2 separate regions of the Homo sapiens genome follow, and region 2 is linked to region 1. Evidence: promoter capture Hi-C in 16 types of primary human blood cells and fetal thymus (Javierre and others, 2016). All regions are on one chromosome and are shown on one strand. Each heading gives the region's core, a stretch centred on a gene start or on the middle of the fragment in contact. The rest is flanking DNA. Distances are from core to core; before and after follow the strand shown. Region 1 holds the start of ELF2 (E74 like ETS transcription factor 2). Region 2 overlaps SETD7 (SET domain containing 7, histone lysine methyltransferase).

The links. The method cuts DNA at HindIII sites, captures the fragments that hold promoters and counts their contacts. A CHiCAGO score of 5 or more calls a contact.
Region 2: a fragment that was not itself captured here is called in contact with the fragment with the promoter of ELF2 in region 1 in 8 of 17 cell types (fetal thymus, erythroblasts, activated CD4 T cells and 5 more); the score reaches 8.4 in fetal thymus.

The regions. Positions count from the first base shown.
Region 1 is chr4:139,175,849-139,178,548 of GRCh38, reverse strand. It overlaps ELF2 (E74 like ETS transcription factor 2), which reads left to right and starts at 1,331. Exons shown (of 10, transcript NM_001331036.3): 1 at 1,331-1,582. It overlaps LOC105379412 (a long non-coding RNA gene), which reads right to left and starts at 2,394. Exons shown (of 4, transcript XR_007058273.1): 1 at 2,201-2,394. RefSeq lists silencers at 361-740, 751-1,710 and an enhancer at 2,311-2,360. The HindIII fragment of the contact is 9,266 bases long and covers 1-2,700 here.
Region 2 is chr4:139,527,069-139,529,768 of GRCh38, reverse strand. It overlaps SETD7 (SET domain containing 7, histone lysine methyltransferase), which reads left to right. Exons shown (of 8, transcript NM_030648.4): 4 at 549-738. Among named protein-coding and RNA genes, the nearest start is that of SETD7, 28 kb to the left of the region's middle. RefSeq lists an enhancer at 1,207-1,266. The HindIII fragment of the contact is 1,015 bases long and covers 811-1,825 here.

The sequences.
Region 1 (2,700 bases), core at 82-2,581:
TGGTGGTGAAGAAATAGACTGAGGCGTTTGTATGCATTAACTGTGCCTACAAAGCCCATTAAAGAGACGCTCCTACACAGGGCAACCCACGGCACCGTGTCATTGGCTTTTGTGCACTTGAAGGCGCGTGAGAGTGCCCCGCTCGAAGGCTCCCCTTTGTGTGAAAGTGTGGAAACCAGAAGCGTGCAGCCACTGCTGGGTTTTCGTTTTCGAATTCGCAGGCACTTGGGCCAAAATACTCCCACACCAGAACACTCTCTCATTCTCGCACCAACAACACTCAGACTTGAGTTACTTCTCCGTTGCGGACCGCGCAAGGAGCGACAATGGCTAGGTGCGAGTGCCCGCAGCTCCCCGGGCAGCTCCAAGGGGCCGCCCGCCGCGCTCCGCAGCTGCGCGCTGGGCCCAGCCACCCGACAGCCAGCAAACGCCGGCACCAACCGCCGCGCGGCCGGGCTGTTGGGCGGGTGGTAATTTCTGGGAATGGGGCGGGGTCGCGGGTGTACTACGCCCGGCTTTTGCTAGCGGGGAGGAGGAGCTGGCGGCGCCGAGGGGCGCGAGGCTGGCGGGGCGGTGCGCCACGTGCGTCACCGGCCGGGGCGGGGCCGGCGTCGCGCTCCTGCCCGAACCCCCACCTTTCACTAAGCCAAGGCTGAGGAGTGGGAACTGGAAAGACCGGGCTAGGAGTTTTTGCAAAACCTCGCCCCCCTGTAACTGTCAGACTGCCCGACTGTGGGGCCGTCTCCGGAGAAGGGCGAGAGTCCTGAGTTGGGGATGCGGTGACGGCGGGGCCTGCGGGGGCCCTGAGTGGCGAGGGTGTGTGCGTGCGGTCCCGGCCGGCGGGGGAAAGCCGGCGGGCGCTGCAGGTGCACGCGCGGCCCCATCGGCCTCACACGCCTGCCCCGTGCGGCAGAGCCCCCTGCACCAATCCGGGGCTGGAGTGGAGAGCGAGATCGGGGAGCCCTGGGCAAGGAGCCGGACAAGTGACGAGCGTCTTTACCTGGGAAGGCGGGTTTGGGAGAAGTTGGGCGAGGAGAAGAGGGCGGGATTCAAGACAGCAAAAGAAGCAGGTTCGGCGGGCTGGTGGGGGCCCGAGGGCGGCGGGGCCCCGCGGGGTATAAATAGCCGGCCCGCGTTTGACAGGCGCTGCGGTGACTGGCGGTGCCGCCCCCGCCCCCCCGCCGCGTGGGGAGGGGAGGAGCACTCTGAGCTGGCGGGGAGGGGGAGGCGGACTCCAGTGTCCTGGTGGAGGCGGCAGGAGGCCGAGGGGGAGGAGCCGAGGCGGGGGGTGGAGGGAGGGGGCCGGGAGCGGAGCGGGGCGGGGGCAACCATTGCTCCCAGCGCCAAGCTCTGTGTCGCCGCCGTCGCCTAGGCGGTTGGGGGTCGGTGGGGCGGCGCGGGCGGGGGTCGCTGCGCGGGGCGGCGAGCCTCTGTTTTGTCTCCTTCTCTCCCTGTGGAGCGGCTCGGGCTGCTGGGGAGGCCCCGGCTCCCTCCGGACGCTCGGCCAACGGCGGCGGCTAGTCCGCGGCCCTGCTGAGAGGGAAAAGGACGCCGCGGTCTTCCCAGGCGTCGCGGAGAGCAGGTAAGAGCGCGGGCAGCCGAGGCTGGTGAGAGGGAGCGCGAAGGGCGCGGCGATAAAGCCTGGCTGTCCCGACTGCCGCCGCCTCCCTCCGCGCCCCCGCCCCGCGCTTGTGTTGTTTGCTTCGGGGTTTGCGGAGGGGTTTTCCGGCGGCTGCGGCGGTGACACCGGCCGGGGGCTGGGGGAAGGGGGCTGAGTGTCCCCAGGCAACGGTCGCGGAGCGGGACTTGGAGAAAGGGGAAGGCGCGCTGCGCGCCTGCCCGCGGGGAGCGCGGGGCGCGGGGCAGGGCTGAGGGAAGAGGTTACAGACCCCGGCGGGGGGGATGGGCCGAGCGCAGCTGGTCTCTCCGTGTTTACATCTCTGCGCGAGTCACCTCTGCCGAGAAGCGGACTGAACTGACCCGCCTCATCCCGCGGGGAGGCCAGGGCGGGGGTCCGGCTCCGGAGGAAGCGCGTCCTGGGAGGGTTTGTGTAGGGCGGGAGTCTGCGGCCGGCGCCGGGGCTGGGCGGCGAGCTCGGGGCGGGACCTGGGAGGCTCCGGCCGCTCTGGGTGGCGGGCAGGCGGGGGGGGGCGCTGGACACCAGTTTCCTTCCCTGTCGTGCCTTATCGCCGCCGCTTACCTTTCCTTCCCGGCGCTGCTAGCTTGCACGACAGGTTGTACTCGGCAGTTCTTTTATTCTCGCTCTCCACGCCGGCACCGTGCTGCCATCTCCCCCTATTCCCCGGGAGGTAGGGAGGCTTTGCTCGGATCGGAATCTGTTTCTTAAGCAAAACAAAAACGGGCTCGTAACAGGCACGTCCAGTGACCGCCTTCTGGATCCTCGCGAAGCTGGTCCTCAGGGACCGCGCGACGGGATGGTCTAGGGGCGCGGAAGGAGGACAGGGAGGGCTCTGCCAGGGCTGGATGCTGACTCTACCCCAGGAGCTTTGTGATCAGGGTAGCCGAGCCCTCTCTTCTGCTCCATTTGGGCATTTTTATTCCATGTCCATAAAGGACTCAAAAAATATTCCGTGACACCAAGAATAATCCAGATCGCACAGTTTCTAATCTTTTTCCCTCTGCCAGCATCCTGGATGGACTCTTTCTAGGAGGCAGATTCGCTGCAGAATAGCCTTTAAG
Region 2 (2,700 bases), core at 69-2,568, 350 kb before region 1:
TAACTCTCTTTACTTGTGTACACTAAATTAATTCTTAAGTACATTTGAACTGAATATTTTCCTAACACACTAGAAATCCAAAATTTAATATTGAGAAGGGAGATCTTATGAATAGTGGGTAGGAGTGTCTTGCTAAAGATCGTCATCATATTTGATTTTGGCCAAAAATAACACTTAGTTACATTTCCTTTAAATATTGGTAATTGATGTTACAAATATCAAAGAAACATCATTTATTTCTTAGTAAACCAACATAGAGTATCAGTAACTTGTCCCGGATTACAAACTGCAACGGAATTTCCCACTCTCTAAATCAGGCATACATGCCCCAAATGCGTATGACTTTCTAGCAGTATATTTGTATGGAGCTGGATGAGGAGCTATGCATCATGTTTTTCTTACCCAGGTGAAAAGCTCTGGGTTCCTAAACTGTTATTATCCCTACTGGTGCTATATTAATAATGGGACTGCAGAAGAGAAATTTCTTGGGACTCATGTCCTAGACATACTATATATAATATTTTCTGGTTTTTGGTTTCTCCCATCAGGATGGAGGAAGCCTTGTAGGAGAAGTAAATGAAGATGGGGAGATGACTGGAGAGAAGATAGCCTATGTGTACCCTGATGAGAGGACCGCACTTTATGGGAAATTTATTGATGGAGAGATGATAGAAGGCAAACTGGCTACCCTTATGTCCACTGAAGAAGGGAGGCCTCACTTTGAACTGATGCCTGGAAGTAAGTTGAATCTGCTTCAGATGGGTTGCTCCAATTCCAAAGCAGGTTGTTAGGGCTGATTTGAGACAAGCTTCTTTTCTTTTCCTCTCTGTATAGTTCTCTTTAATCGTGTTTATTAGTCAGGTTTTATTGCATAACAGACACTGCACCTCCCCAGTGGTTTACAACAGCAACCACAGCTCTGCCGAGCAGCTGTACTCCAGCTGGCTGAGGCTGGGCTTAGGGGGCCAGGCCAGACTTGAGGCTTCTGGTCAGGTTTGAGTCAGCTCTCTTTGTCTTAATTCTGGGGCCTAATCTGAAGGGACAATGGCAATGTGGGGCAACATTTTCCCACAGTGGATCACAGAAGTGTCAGAGCATAAGCAGATACCTGTGATGCCTTTTGAAACCTCACCTTGGAACTGACATGGTGGCACTTTACTCACTTTTCACTGGTCAAAGCAAGTCACATGGCCAAGCCAGACATCAGTGAGACAGGGAAATTACACCATACACATTAGTGGGAGATACTGAAAAGTCATGTGACAAAGGGCCTAGGTATATAATTCTCATATAGGGAGGGAATAAAGAAATGACAGCAGTAATTCAACTGATTTCAAATGGTTATCTCTCCAAAAAACTGTACTATGATAATAAAGAACCAAATCAAGTAGATCTCTAAACTGTAAAGTTGATTGAGCCTGAGCTGTGACTGGAAAATATAAATGCATATTGGCATCTCGAGCCCAACATCTTGCGTGGAGCACAATGTATGAGTGAACCCAATGGAATCCATATTTGAAAAAAGTATTATTTTCCTTTTAGAAGTACACATGTCACACTAAACATTTTTTCTGAGTATAAAATTACTAAGTGTAGAAAATCTGGAAAATATACAAAGAAAAATCAAGATTTTGCATTTTGAGTGGCACAGCTTAAGAAAGCTATTTGAATTGGTCTGATTCCCTGAAAACAATATATGCATGTATTTCTGAGCCAGGTTTGGTTATAGGGAGAAAAAAACAGAAAAGACAATAAATCTGGGCATTAATAGGCTTAAATAGTATTTAGTTATTTGGGATCTGAAGAAGAATCTCCAAAGGAAGCTTGTCCAAAAGTGGAAATTTTAGCATTTATATTTAGGTCCAATTTGGGTTGCTTTAAATGTCTTTTTTGTTTTTTTAAGTTAAAAATGGAGACAGTCTAAATGCAATGTGGGATTCTGGATTGGATCCTGGAAGAGAAAAAGGACATTAGTGGAAAAACTGGTGAAATCTAAATAAAGTCTAGAGTTTTGTACATAGTAATGTATCTGTGTTGGTTTCTTAATTTTGACAAATGTACCATGCACTGTAAGAAGTTAACATTAGGAGAAACAGTGAGGATGCTCTGTGCTTTCTTTGCGACTTTTCTGTATACAGTCATGGGCCCATAACAACTGTGGTACCATAAGATTATGCCATATTTTTGTTTTTATTTCATTTTATTTTTTAAGGGACAGGATTTCACTCTGTTGCCCAGACTGGAGTGGACTGGTGTTATCATAGCCCACTGCAGCCTTGAGCTCCTGAGCTCAAGCAATCCTCCTGCCTCAGCCTCCCCAGTAGCTAAGACTACAGGCATGCACCACAATGCCCAGCTAAATATTTTTAAATTTTTTTGTAGAAACAGGGTCTTGCTGTATTGCTCAGGCTGGTCTCAAACTCCTGGCCTCAAGCAATCTTCCTGCCTCGGACTCTCATAGTGCTGGGATTACAGACATAAACTACTGCACCCAGCTAAGATTATATCATATTTTTACTGCATCTTTTCTGTGTATAGATATGTTTAGATACACAAATCCTTCCCATTAGGTTACTGTTGTCTATGGTATTCCCTATAGTAACAAGCTGTACAGGTTTGGAGCCTAGGGGCAATAGGCTGTACCATTTATTAATAGCCTAGGTGTGTAGTTGGCTATACCATCTAGGTTTGTGTGAGTAC